Regions from separate parts of the Homo sapiens genome. Here region 2 is linked to region 1. Evidence: promoter capture Hi-C in 16 types of primary human blood cells and fetal thymus (Javierre and others, 2016). All regions are on one chromosome and are shown on one strand. The core of a region is centred on a gene start or on the middle of the fragment in contact, and the rest is flanking DNA. Distances in the headings are between cores, read along the strand shown.

Evidence for each region. The method cuts DNA at HindIII sites, captures the fragments that hold promoters and counts their contacts. A CHiCAGO score of 5 or more calls a contact.
Region 2: a contact is called between a fragment that was not itself captured here and the fragment with the promoter of BMP6 in region 1, in 1 of 17 cell types (neutrophils). The highest score is 6.1, in neutrophils.

What each region holds. Positions count from the first base shown.
Region 1 is chr6:7,724,718-7,727,626 of GRCh38, forward strand. BMP6 (bone morphogenetic protein 6) reads left to right here and starts at 1,382. Exons shown (of 7, transcript NM_001718.6): 1 at 1,382-2,902. The coding sequence starts at 2,239. The HindIII fragment of the contact is 3,909 bases long and covers 1,107-2,909 here.
Region 2 is chr6:7,593,783-7,596,691 of GRCh38, forward strand. It overlaps SNRNP48 (small nuclear ribonucleoprotein U11/U12 subunit 48), which reads left to right. Exons shown (of 9, transcript NM_152551.4): 2 at 1-65; 3 at 317-377; 4 at 1,245-1,319. Among named protein-coding and RNA genes, the nearest start is that of SNRNP48, 5.0 kb to the left of the region's middle. The HindIII fragment of the contact is 1,555 bases long and covers 595-2,149 here.

The DNA.
Region 1 (2,909 bases), core at 132-2,631:
CTGTAGAGATGGTTAAAGACTGGCATTCACATAAGTTTTGTGCCCTGAAATTCATAGCTATCAGATATTTGTAGAAATAAAGACTCTTCTAAATGACCACTTGTGTCTGGGCCAAGGCAGAACTAGAAAGAAGGACTCAGTGGGTAGTTGGAGTCAGTGGTGGTCTCTATTTACCCATGAGAAATAGATTCTTGGAAATAGGATAGGAATGCTTATAAGATTTGGACCAACAGAAAGCCTATGATCTCATAAATTCATGAATCCCACAGTCTATAATCTATTTGACTTCACTCTCAAATGCCTAGGACCATTTGGACTAAGGCTGGCAAGTCAGAAAATTGCAGTTTTTATTTTCAACTCCACACAATTTTCACCAAGTAAAAAACCTTCATGTTTTACGTGAATTTGCTTCTACGATCCATAGATGACTGGATGTTCTCGGGCGGGGTAAAGGCAAATGAATTTGTGTCCTCATTGGCAAATGGTGTTGGTGGTGGTGTTATCTTGTCTAAAATCCACAGGAACCTGTGTTTCAGGACCCTGTCTATTGTCCTGACCATTCAGAATGCATGCCAAGCCCCTGCTCTTCCTGGAGTTATCTTTATCACCTCTCCTCAAGTTTTATCTTGCACCATATAAGTCACATTGTATTTCAATATTAAAATGCAACATTAATAGATAAGCTGGAGAATCAAGACATTTCCAAGAAGACAGGGGACGCCTTTTCTAATATATCGTCTGATTACACCCTCTTTCTTTTGGGTGCTAGCTTAAGAAGCCAAACCAAAGCACAAATGAACAGAGAAGTCAACACATCCGACCCCAAACCCTCAGGACGCTGGCTTGGGTTACATGTGGCCCTCTCTGTGGTCAGTTTGTGAGTAGCCTCCCCGGAGGGTGTGTCCCAACTTCCAGCAGCTGCCGTGGAAAGCCACGTGTCCGCTAAACGCCTACATTACATCAATAAGAGAAACTAAGGAAGGGATGGAAAAGCTATCATTTTTCTTTTCTTCCTCAGTTCTGGCAGTATAGTGATTTAATCGCTGTTATTATTTTTATTTAGTTAAAGCATCAACTTAGGCCTTTTAAATGATGGTAAAAGAGAAAGCTTCAGATCGGGGTATTGGTCAGATCATTCTTACTAGCGATGACCTCTTCGCCTTTGGCACCTCGCGGCTCTTCGCATGCCTCCAAGAATTCCCGGGTCTTGAAACCTACGCGCGGCGGAGGCGACGCCTCTCGGGAGAGGGAGGGTGAAAGAAGGGGCGGGGCTATTTAAATAGCCCGCGAGCTTCGCGTCCCCATTGGCTGCCAGCCTGTCGGTTACCGCGGGGCGGGGAGTCCCGGGGCTGGAGTGAGGTACCTGAGCCGGGCGCGCAGCAGAAAGCCCACGTTGGCCGCTGCGGGGAGCGCGGCGTGGAGAGGCGGGAGACCGAATTCCGGCGCCGCCGCCGCGGCCGCTGCTCGGTGCACTAGCCCCCTTCCTTCCCATCCTTTCTGCGAGCGGGTTTGCTGGGCAGCCGGGCGACCGCCGAACGGAAAGCAAGATCCTCGCCGCCTCCGCTTGAGGAGGCGTGCGGCGCGCGGAGATTTTGAGTGGGAGCGACGGTGCCCGAGAGCTCAGGGGCGCGGAGTTCGTGAGCGAGAAGGAAGTTAAACCTCGCGGAATAGACTGGCATTTCGGGACGCCTTGTCGCCGCAGCCTGGGCCCTGCAACGGGGTAAACTTCATGGTGGCCCTGCGATCTGGGGAGGGGCGTGCGCCACGGTGATGCCGGGCATCTCCCGCAGCTCGTGAGCGGCCCCGCTCCCCGCTGCCCCGGGTCCCACTCAGTCGCCAGGGAGAGCGCGGGGCAGCGCACGTGTGCGGCCAGCGAGGCCCAGAGTGACCGCGCCGCGACTCGCAGGAGCCAGGGCGCAGGCTGCAGTGCAGCCCGGACTCAGACGCACCTGGCCTGGACCGCGCGCCTCTAGAGACCTGCGCGAGGCTGTGAGGCTCCCCTTCCTCCCCTCCAAGCGGTTCTCCTGGTGATCGCCCCTTCGCCACCTCTCTAGCCTGGGCAACTGGGGGCGCCCCGGACGACCATGAGAGATAAGGACTGAGGGCCAGGAAGGGGAAGCGAGCCCGCCGAGAGGTGGCGGGGACTGCTCACGCCAAGGGCCACAGCGGCCGCGCTCCGGCCTCGCTCCGCCGCTCCACGCCTCGCGGGATCCGCGGGGGCAGCCCGGCCGGGCGGGGATGCCGGGGCTGGGGCGGAGGGCGCAGTGGCTGTGCTGGTGGTGGGGGCTGCTGTGCAGCTGCTGCGGGCCCCCGCCGCTGCGGCCGCCCTTGCCCGCTGCCGCGGCCGCCGCCGCCGGGGGGCAGCTGCTGGGGGACGGCGGGAGCCCCGGCCGCACGGAGCAGCCGCCGCCGTCGCCGCAGTCCTCCTCGGGCTTCCTGTACCGGCGGCTCAAGACGCAGGAGAAGCGGGAGATGCAGAAGGAGATCTTGTCGGTGCTGGGGCTCCCGCACCGGCCCCGGCCCCTGCACGGCCTCCAACAGCCGCAGCCCCCGGCGCTCCGGCAGCAGGAGGAGCAGCAGCAGCAGCAGCAGCTGCCTCGCGGAGAGCCCCCTCCCGGGCGACTGAAGTCCGCGCCCCTCTTCATGCTGGATCTGTACAACGCCCTGTCCGCCGACAACGACGAGGACGGGGCGTCGGAGGGGGAGAGGCAGCAGTCCTGGCCCCACGAAGCAGCCAGCTCGTCCCAGCGTCGGCAGCCGCCCCCGGGCGCCGCGCACCCGCTCAACCGCAAGAGCCTTCTGGCCCCCGGATCTGGCAGCGGCGGCGCGTCCCCACTGACCAGCGCGCAGGACAGCGCCTTCCTCAACGACGCGGACATGGTCATGAGCTTTGTGAACCTGGGTAAGGA
Region 2 (2,909 bases), core at 122-2,621, 130 kb before region 1:
CATCTTTGGCAAAGCACATGGCATCTTGTAGATTGAGGAAAATGGGCTATACCAAAGAAGAAGAGGTACCATATATTTACTATATTATATATACATATATGTCATGCATTTTACACATTAATTCACAATTTTTGGAAGTTACAATGTGAGGTTCACTGACAAAATAATAGCCCTTACTTGAAGGGTTGGTTGGTACTTGCCTAATTGCACAAATTATTGTGAGAAATAATTAAGTGATACTAATCTATTGTTTAGGTCAAGTCTTAAAATAGTCAATTATCTGATACTTAAGAACAGTAAGATTCTTTTTTTTCAGGATGAAATGTATAATCCTGAGTTTTTCTATGAAAATGTGAAGATACCTTCGATTACTTTGAGTAAGTATTAAGTTATTATAATTTAAAAATATCTTAGTGTAGATATTGATTTTTCATTTTTGCATTATGAAAAGAATGGATTGTATAAGCATGCTTATGACAAGGACATTTAGTACCTTAAGAGAATGTAGAATTAATTAATGTACAAGGCAACTAATTCACATAATCTGAAGTTTAGAGACCAGGCTTGTATTAATAGGCAGTGAAAACCTTACAAAGCTTTGTATAGTAGAGCAGACACCTTCTTTCTCAGTTACAACAAAAATTTGAGCATGTGACACAGATTGAAGGATGAGACTGAAGATGGACATGTGTTCCAGGGATTGACAGCATATATAGAGGTTAAAGTCTTGGGCTCTGGAAAAAGAATGTCCTGATTCAACTCCTGTTTTTATCATGAAAGATGTGACTTTCAGCGAGGTAATTAACCTGTTTGTTGCCTAAATTTCTTTATAAAATGGAGATGGTTATAATAGCACTTTGCGAAGATTAAGTGATATATATATATAATATTCTTAGAATAGTGTCAGGCACTTAGCTGGAGTCAGCTAGAGGGTCACAGAGTTGTGACCATTACAGCACAGGCTTCAAGAATGTTAGCTATTATTGGTCAGTAAAATTTGTCGCTGCTACTGCTGCGTGCCTAATTATAGGCATGAACTGCTTGAAGTCTGATTACTTACTGGGCTGTAGATAAATCTGAAAGGATTCTGTGTTCAGATTTCATAGACAGGGATGTGGATGTTTCTTAAGATTCTGGAAGGTTTGTCCACGTGCCCAAAGGGCTTGGATCAGAAACCAGTTAATAATTTAATTGTGGTCACTGATGATTCATATTGTATTTATGGATTTTTTTTTTTTTGACAGATAAGGACTCACAATTCCAGATAATTAAACAAGCTAGAACTGCAGTTGGGAAAGACAGTGATTGTTATAATCAAAGTAAGTGGCATTACAGTTTAAGTGAATTAAAGAATGAAATTATTATTTTTCTCATAAGCATGTTACTAATTTTCTTCAAGAAAAACCTGTGAAAACTGTTACATGGGAAAGGTAAAGTTTTACATTTAACATTGGGCTAATTTGCTTCGTTTCAACTTCATTTGTTAGATATTTCCTGTTGAGATACACCAGAGTCTCACTAAGACACTATCTTAGCTAGGGGTTCATCCTTTGGAATTACCTGGCGATTTATAGGTGAGATTGTCTTGTGGCTAATTAAAAAAATTATTATTTAGTAAATACAGATGGTCCCAACTTAATGATGATTTAATTTAGGATTTTTTCAATTTTATGGTGTTGTGAAAACAATACACAATCACAAGGTTTTAGACTTTAAGTACTAGTGATTCTTTTATCAGACGCTGGGCTGCATTTTCAACTTAACGGTATTTTCAGTTTATGATGGGTTTATCGGGATGTAACCCCATGTAAGTCAAGGAACATCTATAAATGCCACTGAGTGAGGCTCTTTTACTCTTGAGATTTCCTCTCTTTAGAGTGTTGAAATGCAGTGTAAAGAAAAGGCTTAGGCTAAAAGAGATTAGTCTCCACAGCTACCCTCAGATTGCTTGCTACCCAGTAAGTGAGTTGGTTTGAGGTGATGAATGCTTGGGATCCCCTTCTCAGAAAAAAAGTACAAACACAAAAGTTTTACATATAATTTCAGAGGATTCATATTAATAGATCCTTTCATGCCCAGCTTTAGAGCTGGGTTAAAGAGTTTCTCCCTGGGAACCTCAGCAGAGAGTAGGTTAGAAGTTTTAAGCATAAGCTTTTAGGAAATTGAAAGAAAACTTCATCCATCAAAAACATAGACATAGGCCAGACACGGTGGCTCATGCCTGTCATCCCAGCACTTTGGGAGGCCGAGGCAGGTGGATCATCTGAGGTCAGAAGTTCAAGACCACCCTGGCCAACATGGCGAAACCCTGTCTTTACTAAAAAATGCAAAAATTAGCCGGGCATGGTGGCAAGCACCTGTAATCCCAGCTACTCAGGAGACCGAGGCAGGAAGAATTGCTTGAACCCAGGAGGCGGAGGTTTCATTGAGCCAAGATTGCACCATTGCACTCCAGCCTGGGCAACAGAGCGAGACTCCATCTCAAAAAAAAAAACACACATAGACAAACGAGTTAATAAAAGTTTAAATTTCTAATGAATGTAGATATGACATCTAGCCAAAACCTGAACAGCTTCTCTTGTAAGGATTTCTGCATTGTCTTCTTTGAACCTTCTGTAGGTAGCTTTCTCTGGACAACTTACCTTTTTTTCCTCATTCTTTTTTCTAGCTGAATTATATTTACCAGGCTGTAGTCATGGTTGGTTTTCTCCCTCATTGAAATTGAGGATCTTTACCAAATACTGTTCTAAGCCAGTATCTGGACTTGATTTCTCAGAGTTGCTCTATGGCTTCAGAAGAAAGACCATCTTATCCTTAGTTGTCTATATTACATGGGTTCTCTACAACAGCCAGAAGCACATTTCTTGTATTTTTTGTTTTGAGGTTCCCACTTTTGTCCCTGTCAGGGA